2 separate regions of the Homo sapiens genome follow, and region 1 is linked to region 2. The links are contacts of gene promoters, found by promoter capture Hi-C in human tissues and cell types (Jung and others, 2019). All regions are on one chromosome and are shown on one strand. Each heading gives the region's core, a stretch centred on a gene start or on the middle of the fragment in contact. The rest is flanking DNA. Distances are from core to core; before and after follow the strand shown.

Region 1 (7,034 bases), core at 2,753-5,252, 330 kb before region 2:
GGAGACTTCCAGCCTTAAGATCAGAGCAGGGGACAGTTGGGGCCACATTAAAAAAGGTAGCACGTGTAGAATGAAGGGGGAGACATCCTGTACCAAGAGGCTGGTGTCCAGACCCCGGGACTGTGTCCTCAGCACCTGCACAATGACCCTCACTGCATCCTCATGGTAGAATTTGCAGATATGATGTAGAGGTGTGCGTATATGTGTGTAAAGGGATACATGGCAGGTATAATTTGCTGACACCATGCTAGGGACTCTACAATCATTTTATCACTTCTCACAACACCTACAAGGCTCCGGGGAGTCAAACTGGGATATTTCTTTTACCACTGCAGCCTCAGACCTCTGCCCTGGTCCCTGATCCAGAACACAGTCACCCCACACTCCCCTGGTCCTGGGCTAGCAAGGAGGGCTGTGGAGGAGGCAAGCAAGCTCCAAAGTGCAGCACTGAGGCTGGGGCGGAGACACTGAGAGTCCGAAGGCACCTCCATCCCTAGGAAGCAAAGCCAGACACCCAATTCTGGAGTCAGAAAAAAGCCCTTCAATTTCCATCCCTGCAGCCCAGTGTCCCACCACCCTCAGGGGAGAAGGGTCGCTTTGCTCTCCCTGGGGCACTGTGTTTGCTTACCTCCCAGGCAGCTCTGATGTTGCATAGCTCTTTTTCATTTAGGAGCAGTGACTTCCTTCCCGAAATTTCTTCCCTTAGACCTGGGCTGCTTCCTCTGACCCTGCACAGCCCTGCAGATGTTTGCAGGGTATCGCCCTATTTTATCTCCCTAGACTGAAACATACTCTGTCCTGAGTTAAGACTCTGGCTGGTTGTAGCAGACTTTAAGGAAAGAACTTAATTGCAAAAATTCACTCTAAGTGTGGGCGTGACTAAGACTCATTGTGTCTTGAATGTGCAGAGATGGATAGGAGGAGCTCGGGGGTTAGTGACATTGAGGCCACATGAGGGAACTCTCGTGAACACTCAGTTGAAGGGTTCTGGAGTTGGGAGGCTAGTGAACCAGTCCCACCAGTGCAGGGCTGACGGCCCTGTGTCCAGAGACCCCCAAGCCCAGCCTGTTCCTTGAGCCAGGGCTGCCGTGCCTCTGCCCAGCCTCCAGCTCACGAGGGCTGGCTTAGCGGGATTCATGTGCCACCCCCTCGGTGACATCTGAGACCATGCACGTCTTGGTTGTGCCTTGTTGCTCTCTGCTGCTCTACACAGGGAGACAGGCCGGCTGGTCGCCTCGGGGGTTATCTTCCCTGGCCCCCGAAGCCCTGGTGACCCTGAGCCTGACCCAGGGGGAACAATGACACAACAGCAAATGCCCTGGGGCGAGTGCCACCCTGACAGCCCCAAGGAACAGAGAGAATCAGCAGGGTGCAGGGCTCAGCAGGTGCAAGGGGAGAAGGCTGGCTTATGTGGTGGTGGGGACAGGGCACAGGGCCGGGAGGGAGGGGACAGGTGGCCAGGGGCTCTGTCTACATGGGAGCCACATGGGGGTGTGGGTGGGCACTGCAGAGAGGGGCCCTGGTCATGGGGTCCACAGGAGAGCCAAGCCAGCCTAGAGGATCCAGGGATGGCCCAGGTGCTCCTGCCCCACCTGTTCCAGGCCAGCTGTGTCAGGGGTACTGCCTCCGTTTCTCCAGGCTGGGACCTCCACTGCAGTGGGTACATTGGACACTCAGACCAGCCCCAGGGCCTGGCAGTTCCTGGTGAAGACTGAGACAGCCCGACACCCGTCCACACCCCCGCCCAGGATGGGGTGGCTGCTGGGTCACTCGGTCCTGGCAAACACGCTGGAGGGAGGGGCTGGATTGACTTTAGGGCACTGGTAAAAGCTCACATCCATCTGTCCACCCAGAACAGCTGGTGCCAAGCACCCACTTAGCAGGACAGGGCAGCCCGCGCCTCCACACTGCCCATGCCCCCTCCCGTCTCCCAGGACGTCCACACAGGAGCCACATGTGTCCTGGACCCACGCCACCCCCCGCTCTGTCCCTCTGTTCCCTGAGCTGGGCTGGCAGGGGAAGCTGAGGTGTACAGGGATGGCCAAGGCCTCCTCCCTCCCCCCTGCACCCCCTAGCCCCATTGGCATTACCTCAGAGCAGACAACAGCTTAGTGGGGACCCAAGTGAGGGGGTGTCAGTGGCCCAGGCCCTGCCCTGCCCAGTCACTCAGGCAGCTAAGAGAGCAGGAAGGGCCCAGACGACACCCCCACAGACATATGCCAGCCCCTCCGGGTGACCAAAATCATCTCAGTAAAGGCAGATGAGGCCAAGCGAAAAGGGGTGGGTGGAAGAACCGGCTCTGAGTCTCAGCCCACAGACACTCGGACACTCGTCGGCCCGGTAGGCAGGGGTTCCTGGTGGCCTCAGGCTGTCAGGCCCGGCCCCCTCCCGCAGCTGTCTCCAGCTCCCACCTCCCCCGCCCACCCCCCAGGACTCCTATTTCACTGAGGAGATTAAGACCACCTGGCGAGAACCCCTCCCACCCCTCCCCTCTCCCCAGCCCTCCCTCCTAACCCTGTCGGCCCCTTGAGGTGCCCTCCCGGCCCCGGCCCTCCTCTCCCATCCCCACGTTCCTCCACGGCAGCCTCCACGCCCTGCCCTGCCCTGCCCTGCCATGGGCCTGAGGATGTCCCCACCCGCTCTGATGGCCACCTCGGGTCACTTCTCCTCAGCCCATACCCTGGCCTAACCCCCACCCTGAGCCTCCAGTCCCTCCAATCCTCACCCTTTATGTCCCCCAGCCCTGCATAGATACAGGCATCGTCACCAGCCACGGCAATGGATCCCGTCCACCTCCCACCCGGCCACTCCAGACCCAAATTCAGCACTGGCTTCAGCCTCCTGCCATTCTTGCTGGGTCTCAGGAGGGAACCGGGCCAGCCAGGTGCTGTCTGGGACTGTAGGCTCTGAGCCTGGTCCCTGCTCAGTTCCAGCAGCCAGTGGGCCAGGGGTGCTCAGCTGAGGACCCCCACTCCATCCAGCCTGCCGTGGGGCAGCCGGCCTGGCCTGATGCTGGCTCAGACAGACTCATGAGGAATCTGAGCTCTGAAAACCGCAGCTCCGAGCTTGCCTGTTTGTTTGCTTTTGAGAAATTCCAACCTGGTTCAGCAGAGCCTTGGAGGAGGGAAGGGATTTGTCAGGTCTGGGGTGGGGCTGGGGCAGGCTTGTGGATGTGGGGAAACCAAGGCTGAATCTGGGCACAGGGACCCAGTGGGGAAGCCGGGAGAGGGTGCCTAACTGGGCCTCCTGGGGGGTCCAGCTGTGATTCCCCCTCCCCAAACCTCACGCCAGGCCTGGAGGCTCCACAGGGGCTATGGAGGCAACAGCCACCCTACTCACAGTGCTGGGAGGACCTGCGGGGCTGGGAGGGGCCCAAGGAGGCCCTGCAGCAACAATAGTGACATCAGCTGGGGAGCTGCAATTGAGGGCCCACATGTGCTGGCTCCATCCACCCATGGGGCCTGCAGCATTCTCCCCACTTCTCAGATAGCATCACTGAGGCTTGCAGAGGCCAGGGCGTGTTCCCAGACACAGAGCCCTGAAGGGTGAAGCTCGCTCCTGGACCCAGCTCCTGAGACTGGGCGACATCACCACGCTGGTTCCTCCCTGTGCAGAAGGGCCCAGAGTACAGGGGTCCTGCCGAAGCAGTCCTGTTCTCCTTTGAAATGAAATATTGCCAGCCTTCTCACCAGCTCCTTCCCCTGGGAAGGCGGGAGACCAGACAGAGTTGGCAGCCCCCAGCCCTGCATCGCCACCCCGACCAGGGAAAGCTGCCTGTGCAACTAATCTCTCCAGGCCCCGGTCCCCCTCTGCCCACGGGCTTGGGGATCCTCCACAGGTCTCAGCAAAGGGGTTCCCGTGCTAGAGCCTTGCCCATCAGGGACACTCCCCAAAACCTGCCCCAGCCTGGGCAGCCCACCTGCCTTTGGCCCCAGGTCAGTGAGGGCGCCTCAGGTCAGCCCCCACAAGCACAGGGGGAGATATGAGCAGGGTCTGCCCAGAGCAGTGGGCAGGGAGGCTCAAATGCCAGCCTGGGCACCTGGGCACAGTCCTGGCCTAGGAGGGACAATCCAGCAGCCTTGGGGGCTTGGCCAGGGAGCAGAGTGGACCGAGAGGCACAGGGTGTGGGGCCAGTCCTCCCCTCCACTGAGACAGGATTTCCACACAGTCTCTCCCAGCAGTCACACTGGGCTGTCACAGTGACAGTATGGACTACTTGAATCAATTGAGCATTTAATGAAAACTGCAAGTGTGATATATTTGACTACTTTAAATGCTTTAAGCATCTTTAAAGAGAGATACAACATATCCAATGTTTACGGGGGCATGGCCTCGTTAGGACCCATTAACAAAGGTGCTGAGGTCACTGGCTTAGTTGTCATTCCTCATTGCCTCTGGCCCTGTCCCCAGAGCCTTCCTTCTCAGAGCTTCCCAGGGCTCATTCGCCACCAAGCAAGATTCAGGGTTGGGGTCTGAGCATGGAAAGTGGCCTCCCAAGGAGTTCCACCCAGAAGGTTCTCTGTAGACCGATCTTGTCTTGAGAGTCTCTTCCAGTACCAATGTCCAAGGAAGCAGGCTGGCCAGTCGGATGCCATCATCCGAGTGCATCCCCTTCAGAAATGACCCAGCAGGAGAGGACTGAAATATTGCATTCTTCCTTCCTCACACAGCAGCAAGCTTCCACAGTGCTTCGCCCAAGTCAAGTCAATCCAAGGCACATGTGAGCATCGTCATTATTGTAGAAGGGTTACAGTGGCCACTGTGAGTGATAAGCCTGCACATGTGTGCGCCTGTATGTATATCTGCTACATGTGCTGTGTGTGCACACTCTCTCACACTGGTGTCTGTGTTGGTGTCTGCTATGTGCATGTGTGTGCCCATGCTCACGTGTGTCTATGTACAGAGGTGCATGCATGCCCGTGCTCACGTCTGTGTACATGTAGAGTGCCCATGCTTGCGTGTCTGCAGGCATACAGTGTGCATGTGTGCGTCTGGGCCCAGTCCGTGTGTCTGCATGCAGTGTGCCTGTGTGTGCCCATGCTCACGTCTGTGTGTCTGATATGTGCATGTGGACACATGTGCCCATGGTCACAATATTGGTATGCTCACATGTGTAGGCATATGTGCCCACACTCCCATGTATGTGTGCCTGAGTATGAACATGGTGTGAACACACACATACACTCATGCTCATGCTCATGAGTATGTGTGCACGTGGTGGTGTGGGTGCTTGAACATGGGCAAATGGGAGCTACTGTCCAGTCAGGGTTCCCTGCTGCCCAGAGGAACTGGAGGGGCCTGTCTGCACGTGTCCATCTTCTGGCCACTCACCCTCAGCCAACACTCCTCCAGGGTCTTTTGGGACAAGTCCCTTCCCCTGGCAAGTGTGGCTCCCCCTGCTGGGGCCACAGAAGGGAAGGGGGCTAGCAGGGACTGGTTCCTCAGCTGGCCCGCCAGGCTGAGATCCAGCCACCTCACCAGCCTGCACATAGGTCTTCCAGGGTCTCAGAGCCTCACCTCTGCCTGGCTGCACCTGGGGTGGAGGGGCTAGTGTGGCCAGGAGATGGACAGACAGATGGACAGCCAGCTCCCCATGTGGCTGGGTCCTCCCACCAAGTGGGCAGCTAAATCAACAGCCTCAGAAATTGGAGAGGGGTCCAGGGCTGGGCTGTCCATCAGTCTGTCTGTTTGTTTGTTTGTTCTGGAGTTGTGGGAACTTCCAGTCTGCAGGGAGTCCTGGTGCCTGGCGAGGTCGGGGGGCAGAGGGTGCCATTACCCATCCGGCCAGCCATCCCTCTCATCATCTCCCCACATCTGTCCTCCTGGGAACTTGGCCCAGAACATCGCACCCATAGTTGCGGGGGACAGCTAGGCCGGGTGACAGGAGGTTGGGGACCAGCTGTATGCGGCTGGCTGTGCAGACCCTGGCCGGCCCCCTCCCGGCTGGGAGGAGGCTGGTGTCACACGGCTGTGTGCTTCCCTGTCCAGTCTTCTCTCCACCCATTACCCCATCCCATGTCTGCCTCTCTCAGGGTCTCGCTGTTCTCTTTGTCAATCCTGCAGTCTTTTGTCCCCCAGGGTCCAGGCACTAGGACTCTCAGGCGGGTCAGACCCTGCCCTGGGACCAGGGAGCAGATGGTGCTGGGGCCTAGGAAGAGTCCCAGGGGATGCTCTGGGCCGGGTGAGGGGGCCACACCTCCTGTCATCCTGTCCAGTGTCCTCCCAGCCACAAGGTGTGCACACCAGGCTGTGTCTAACTCCCAGGCCTTTGCCAGCTATGTGGTCAGCCTGGTCCTGACCAGACTCACAGGGACACCTCCTCCAAGCCCTGGGCCCCTTCCTGGGAACGTGGCTGTGGGCCTGGAGCTCCTGGGCAGGGTTCCTGCCTGCTGTCTGACACACCCCCCAGAGCTTGGAACCAGCCAGAGTACCCACGACCCCAGCAGTTTGAGTAAAGGCCCAACACCAAGGAGAACACGTGGGGGTGGGCTTGGTGAGGACTTCCGTGTCAGGAGGCGGGCGCCAGGGAGGAGAGAGGTCCAGGGAGGGCAAGGTCAAGGAGCAGTGGGACCACCTGAGCCACAGGTTGGGGAGGACTCCCATTGAGACCCCAGGCTGGGTAACAGGAACGGCCTCCTTCTTCATCGCAGGCAGTGTTTGCGGTGGCACAGGAGATCCGGCGGTGGACCCAAATGCGCCCTGCCCTGGCAGGCAGGGAAGTAGACCGCTTCTGTCTCCAGCCCTCCCTGGAGGCGGACCTGGCCCCTGTTCTGGCTCTGGCTTGGGTCCCTCCACTCCAGGAGTCCCCAGCCCCCAGTTCTAACTCAGCACCCGCCCCAGAGGCTGCAAACCCACTGCCTATGCACAGAGGGAGACAGCACTCCCGTCAACGCCTCCGCATGCAGGACCTAATGTCCGACCCGGCTTTGATGCAGATCCCAGCTCGCTCCCGTGCCGGCTCCCGCTCCCGCTCCTCCCCCGCCACCCCCGCCCGCGGTTCTTCTCTCGGCTTGGCGGCTGGGGTCCGACGAAGG
Region 2 (7,136 bases), core at 2,037-4,536:
TGGGGTGATCAGACATCACCTAGAGGATGGTGGAGGGATGAGGAATTTCATCAGTATTGAGGGCGATCAGATATCAAAAGCAGGGTGGTTCTTGCTAAACTGGAATTCTCAGACGGGCCTAGAAGATTTAGGAGCCTGACTAAAGTTTGGCCAAGCAAATAATCTTTTGTCAATACAACAACACGATACTTTTTACTGTTTGTTTTTTTTTTTTTTTTTTTTTTTTTTTTTTTTGAGACAGAGTCTCCTGCTGTCTCCCAGGCTGGAGTGCAGTGGCGCGATCTCAGCTCACTGCAACCTTTGCATCCCGGGTTCAAGCAATTCTCCTGCCTCAGCCTCCCAAGTAGCTGCAACTACAGGTGCGTGCCACCATGCCCGGCTAATGTTTTTGTATTTTTAGTAGAGACGGGGTTTCACCCTGTTAGCCAGGATGGTCTCGATCTCCTGACCTCGTGATCTGCCTGCCTCAGCCTCCCAAAGTGCTGGGATTACAGGCGTGAGCCACCGCGCCAGGCCAATACAATAGTATTAACTAATCTACAGACCTTGTTTGAATTATATCAATTGTCCCATTAATGTCCCTTTTCTGAGCCAGGATCCCATCTATCGTCTGGATTCCACACTGCATTTTGTTATCTCTTTTAATTGAAGATGGCTCCTCAGTCCATCTTTGACTTGAATGATCTCGATACTTGAAAAGCACTGGCTGGTAATTTTGCAGAATGCCCCTAATTTGGGGTTTGTCTGCTCTTCATTCAGATTCTGCCTTTTGGGCAAAAATACCCACAAGTGAACTTGTGTTCTTCTCAGGAGGTCCACAGTATGTCCTCTTACTGGAACTAACTTTTTTCATTTCTATTGAGGCAGAATTTATATACAATGCAATACACATGTTTAAATGGTACAATTTGCTAAGTTTGCTGGTGACCTTGATGGCTTGGTTAAAGGTGGTGTCGCCCAAGTTTTCTTCCACTCTAAAACTACTATTTTCCCTAGGCAATTAGTATCCTGGGGGAGAAACTTTGCAACACTGAAAACAAAACAAAACCTGTTTGTCATGTTTTTGCCCACTATTTTTTTTTTTTTTTGAGATGGAGTCTCACTCTGTCACCCAGGCTGGAGTGCAGTGGCGTGATCCCGGCTCACCACAACCTCTGCCTCCCAGGTTCAAGTGATTCTCCTGCCTTGGCCTCCCGAGTAGCTGGGACTACAGGCACGTGCCACCATGCCCAGCTAATTTTTTTTGTAGTTTTAGTAGAGACGAGGTTTCACCATCTTGGCCAGGATGGTCTTGATCTCTTGACCTCGTGACCCACCCGCCTCGGCCTCCCAAAGTGCTGGGATTACAGGCGTAAGCCACTGTGCCTGGCCTAATTTTTTTGTAGGGGGTTGGGGGCCGGGGACCGAGTCTCGTTCTGTTGCCCATGCTGGAGTGCAGTGGCTGGATCTTGGCTCACTGCAACTCCTGCCTCCCAGGTTCAAGCAATTCTCCAGCTTCAGCCTCCGTAGCTGGGACAACAGGCACCTGCCACCAAGCCCTGCTATTTTTTTTTGTATTTATAGTAGAGACAGGGTTTCACCATGTTGGTCAGGCTGGTCTCGAACTCCTAACCTCAAGTGATCCGCCCGCCTCGGCCTCCCAAAGTGCTGGGATTACACGCATGAGCCACTGTGCCTGGCCTTGCTCACTATTTTTTCTGGAGACGGTCTCGTTCTGTCACCCAGGTTGGAGTGCAGTGGCCCGATCTCAGATCATTGCAACCTCCACCTCCCGGGTTCAAGCGATTCTCCTGCCTCAGCCTCCCGAGTAGCTGGGATTACAGGTGCCTGCTACCACGCCTGGCTACTTTTTGTATTTTCAGTAGAGATAAGGTTTCGCCACGTTGCCCAAGCTGGTGTGGAACTCTTGAGCTCAGGTGATCCGCCTGCTTCGGCCTCCCAAAGTACTGGGGTTACAGGCGTGAGCCACAGGGCCCGGCCCACTATTTTTATCACTCAAGATTTTCGTCTACAGCAGCTATTATTGGGGTGGCTACCCAGTGGAAAATTTTTCTATTTCCACTATTCCTTCCACATTTATTGACAGGAAAGCTAGTCTAAGGAAGAGCTGTACCCTCACTTACTCAGACCCTCGTTTTCCTTTTTTTTTTTTTTTTTTTTGAGACGGAGTCTCACTCTGCCGCCCAGGCTAGAGTGAAAGTGGTGCTATCTCGGATCACTGCAGCCTGGAACTCCTGGACTCAGGTGATCCTTCCACCTCAGCCTCCCGAGTAGCTCGGACCACAGGCGCCCGCCACCACGCGGCTAATTAAAAATAATTTTGGGCCCGGCGCGGTGGCTCATGCCTGTAATCCCAGCACTTTGGGAGGCCGAGGCGGGCAGATCAATTGAGGCCAGGAGTTTGATACCAGCCTGGCCAACATGGTGAAACCCCGTCTCTACCAAAAATATAAAAATTAGCCGGGCGTGGTGGTGGGCGCCTGTAATCCCAGTTACTCGGGTGGGTGAGCCAGGAGAATCGCTTGAATCCGGGAGGCAAAGGTTGCAGTGAGCTGAGATCGCGCCACTGCACCCCAGCCTGGGAGACAAAGCGAGACACCGCCTCAAAAAAAAAAAAAAAAAGAAAGAAAATTTGTAGATACTGGGCTCTCACTATGTTAGCCAGGCTGGTCTCGAACTCCTGGGCTCAAGTAATCCTCCTGACTCGACCTCCCAAAACTCTGGGATTACAGGCGCAAGCCACCGTGCCCGGCCGAACCACCGTGCCCGGCCGAACCCTCCCTGTTTTGGAAATCCTGTATTAGCAAAGGGGACAGCGCCAGACAGTTGAGCACACGCGTTCTTTATAAATGATGATGTCTGATACAGTGATGCTTTTAACAGGGTTGTGTAACGCCTGTGTGTGCACGGTCTCTTCTGCAGTGTCCACCGAAGGTGGCCCGTCTGCGTGTCCGCTCCCGGCGTACTCCGCGCTCCCTGTTCCCGGCATTCCCCGCGCTCCCCGAGCTTCCCGCGCTCCCCTGCTCCCGGCATTCCCGGTGCTTCCCGTTCCCGGCGCTCCTCGCGGCCGCCGCCCTCAGTCCAGCGAGCCCCGCCTGGGCAGCGACTGTTAGCGCGACCGCGGCCTGGGCGCCTGGTCCCTCCCGCGCGGCCGCGCTATTGGGCCGCGCGCGGCGGACACACGCGCTACGCGCCGCCGATTGGCGGCCTCCGCAGCGCGCTCTGCGGCTCCCCCAATGCGGGGCGGCCGCGCGCGGGGATTGGCCGCACGCCGCGAAGGCCCGCCCTCCGCTCGCCCGGCGCGGCAGGCGGGTGCCGGCGACCGGAGAGCCTGGACAGGCTTTCCAGATGGCTGCGGCGGTCGGTCGGTGAGGCTTTCCCGGCTGTGGTTTGGCTGCGGGCGGCTTGGGCAGCCCGCGGGCGCCTCAGGTAGGTGCGGGGCGCGAGGGGCGCCCGCGGGCGGTTGGGCGGGCGCCGCGGCCTGCGCGAGGGCGCGCCCTTCCCTCCCGCCTCCCTCCGGGACCGAGGCCGCGGGCGGGGCGGGGGCGCGGAGCCCGGCCTTTGTGAGGCAACATGGCCGCGGGCGGTGGAGAGCGCGGGGTGGGGACGCCTCCGGGGCTGGGGGGCGGGCCCCGGGCCCAGGCGTTGCCGACTCTCGTCGCTGTCCGCCCGGGTAAAGAGGCTCCTCTCCCGGAGGGCCCGAAGCCTAGCATCGCCTTCAGGCGGGAAAGGTGTGGACAGGGCCAGTGCTCGCCTGGGACCCTGCCGGCTTTAACACAGTTTGGGAAATCCAAGAAGTCGCCTAAGTCTTTTTGTCCACAGAATGCTCACGGGTTGAGTGTCACGTAGATAATTGGGATACGGTTTTATTGTAACAATGAGCATGGCGGAAATAAATGGAAGGTGGCAACCTGTTGACAGTGATGCCTGTCTGGTGTCAACCGATGGACTTGGGTTTCTTGTGGCAGGAGTCTGATTTGCCTTTTTGCATGCTTGCATGTACCTTGTTCCTGCACGGCAGTCCTGTCTTTGGCTGTCGACTGTTCGAGGCCAACCACCAGGCGAGGATCCACTGTTTCCTGGCCAGACTAGACTCCCAGCTGTGGGAGTGGCCCAAACCCTGCTGCAGGCCTTCACTCACAAAAGGGAGTGAATGGCCAGCCCGGGGTACCCAGTGTTGCCTCTAAGTGCGGGATATGAGGCCTGTTGGAGGATGACAAAAGGAACGGATGAGGTCATACTGCCGCTGGGTTGGGCGGGAGGCTGCAGCGGGAGAGACTTGACCAAAAGGCAGCCTCCATGGCGCTGGCACTGGTGCTGGCCCGTCACAGCCAGTGCCTCTGTTAGCCAACACAGCAAGTGGGCTAGGAGGAAGGGTGCTGTCCAAGTGTACGGGTTTTCTCCCCGTGCCAAGGGTCCAGGGGAGCTTGCCGTGAGCCCGTTCCTGTCCGATAGTCCTGTTGGCAAGGCAGGGTTTGCATGCGGTGTTTGGTCAGCTGGAGCAGTGGGGAGGCCTACGGGCAGAGAGCTCCCCTTTGAGCCCTTTGCGGCCAGGCGCTGTGTGGAGCACTTCCCAGGGGTTGTTTTGTAGTCTCACCGTGACCTTGGGGTAGGAAATGTGCTTCTGGCTGGCTTGCCCAGTCTTAGACTCTCTTGTTGTAGCCCTCTCCTTTGTGATGTCACCCAGCCTCCTGACTTTAATGCCAGCTTTCCTTGACATCTTCACAGCTCCAGCCCTGGCCTCTCTTCTGATTTCCAGCCTGGTGTTTCTGGCCACCTCTTCCATATCTCCATGTGTTACTTTGGCGCCAAGTAGCCATATCCAAACCAAACTCAAATCTTCACCCATGCCAAAACATTCCTTGGCCTATCTAAAGTCCCTTTGATTCCTCTCTTTCTTACACCTTCATGCAGTCCTAAGGAGGCCCCGTCAGCTCACCTATTTCTAAGCACAGACCATTTCTCACCACCTTCAAGTTAACATCCTGGCCCAGCCTACCTGGTGAGCCTCTAATTCTCTTTACTGTCACCTTAGGTCCTCACTCCCCATCCACCATCTATAGTTTTTCTGGACACAGAGTGATTCTTCTTTCTTTCTTTTTTTTTTTTTTTGTTTTTTTGAGACAGAATCTCGCTCTGTCGCCCAGACTGGAGTGCAGTGGCGTGATCTCAGCTCACTGCAACTTCTGCCTCCCGGGTTCAAGCGATTCTCCTGCCTCAGCCTCCCAAGTAGCTGGGACTGCAGGCGTCCACCACCACCACGCCCGGCTGATTTTTGTATTTTTAGTAGAGACGGGGTTTCACCATGTTGGCCAGGCTGGTCTCGAACTCCTGGCCTCAAATGATCTGCCTGCCTCAGCCTTCCAGAGCGCTGGGATTACAGGCGTGAGCCACTGTGCCTGGCCACAGAGTGATTCTTTTTATTTTTTTGAGACAGAGTCTCGCTTTGTTGCTCAGGCTGGAGTGCAGTGGTGCGATCTCCCGCTCACTGTAAGCTTCGCCTCCTGGGTTCAAGCCATTCTCCTGCCTCAGCCTCCCGAGTAGCTGGGACTATAGGCGCCCACCACCACACTCGGCTAATTTTTTGTATTTTTAATAGAGACGGGGTTTCAATGTGTTAGCCAGGGTGGTGTCGATCTCCTGACCTTGTGGTCCGCCTGCCTCAGCCTCCCAAAGTGCTGGGATTACAGTCGTGCACCACCGCGCCCGGCCCAGAGTGGTTCTTTTAAACCATAAGATGGTATAAAACAGAGGCGGTGTAGATGCAAGCCAGCTTGCCTGCTTGTAAAGCAGCTCCATCACTTCCTGGCTGTATGACCTTGAGCATGTGGGTGAACCTTTCTTCCATAATGCTATGTGAGACCTGGGTGAGTTAAAATGCTTAAAGTGCTTAGAACAGGGCCTGGCTGAGGTTTGGTTGCCACTGCTATCCTGGAATCAGCTGATGCCACTGTGTGGGCCTTCCTATCCGGTGGCCCATCTCTCTCACTAAGAGCCAAAGTCCTGGCAGCAGCCTGGGAGGACCAGCCCTGATCCATCTGCCCTCATGGACTTGGCCCACTGTCACGTCCCCTCAGCACACTGCCCCAGCTGGCCACACCACATTCCTGACCCCAGCCCTCTGCTTTTCCTCTCAGTGTCACCTGGAACATCCCCTCCTCCCAGCCCTGTAACCCACCTGGCTCACTCCTGCCTTCACGTGGATGCAGGCCATGAGGCCTTCTTGGATCCCCCTTCCTAAAACTGCCTCCCCTTCTTCAGGCGCTTTCCTTGTTTTGTTTTTGCTTGAATACTTCTTGGCATGTGACAGGGTGCATGCTTTTCTTAGTTGTTAGCGGTCCATCTCCCCCACTAAAATGTGAGCTCTGTAGGGCAGGGTTTTGTCCACCTTGTGTCTGTAGCATCTAGGATGGTGTGTGTGTGTGTGATGAATGGAGAAAGCTTATAGAGGGGAGGAAGGAACTTGCCCAGGACTGCCCACCACTGAGGTCTGGGGCTGGGCAGGTTTCCTGCTTTCCTAAGGAGCTCACTCACTTGTAAGGCACCAGGCTTTCCTGCTGTGCATTTCTTCAGTGCCGCCGCTTGGCCCCATTAGCACCTTTGCTTGGAACGTCTACTCTAGCTGCTTCTTCGCCTTCTGTGGTAGCAGGCTTCCCCATTCCGTCCCACTGTTGGTCTCTAATCCCCTGCTCCTTGTGGCTTCTTCATGTAGCTTTTTGTGTCCCAGAATCATGGATTGACTCACCAGGGTCTCTATGGGACTGCCAGGTTCTGAGGTGTGTGGCCCTGGTCTTCCTTGTAATCTGTGGCACTGGGCGCATTGACCCCTCGGTCTGTTTTCTCTAATGGTCTTTCTTGGTTGCCAGGAGACTGACCTCACCCCACTTAGTGTTCCTCATGCCTGCCTGGTTGCTGCCCACAGCCTCTTGAGCGTCTTCAGCACTTTATAGTCAGTTGTTAGCTCTGTGCTGTGTTTCCTGGATCCTCAGCACCTTTGATGGACACATCTTTGGGAACATACGGTGTGAAATTCCCATTAGATTCAGAAATGTTAGGACATCTTAGAATCCAGGAAATGGGGTGACAGTGCAGTGGTCATTGACCTGCCAGTGTGTCCAGGCCCTGTGACCTTGTCT

What was found. Contacts are between HindIII fragments. The study calls those that stand out against the background at their distance.
Region 1: a fragment that was not itself captured here is called in contact with the fragment with the promoter of DGCR8 in region 2 in 1 of the 25 tissues and cell types used here (dorsolateral prefrontal cortex).

What each region holds. Positions count from the first base shown.
Region 1 is chr22:19,748,274-19,755,307 of GRCh38, forward strand. No RefSeq gene overlaps it. Among named protein-coding and RNA genes, the nearest start is that of TBX1, 9.0 kb to the right of the region's middle. The HindIII fragment of the contact is 4,857 bases long and covers 1,575-6,431 here.
Region 2 is chr22:20,076,955-20,084,090 of GRCh38, forward strand. It overlaps DGCR8 (DGCR8 microprocessor complex subunit), which reads left to right and starts at 3,287. Exons shown (of 14, transcript NM_022720.7): 1 at 3,287-3,429. RefSeq lists a silencer at 3,166-3,785 and enhancers at 4,046-4,105, 6,210-6,828. The HindIII fragment of the contact is 8,782 bases long and covers 1-5,968 here.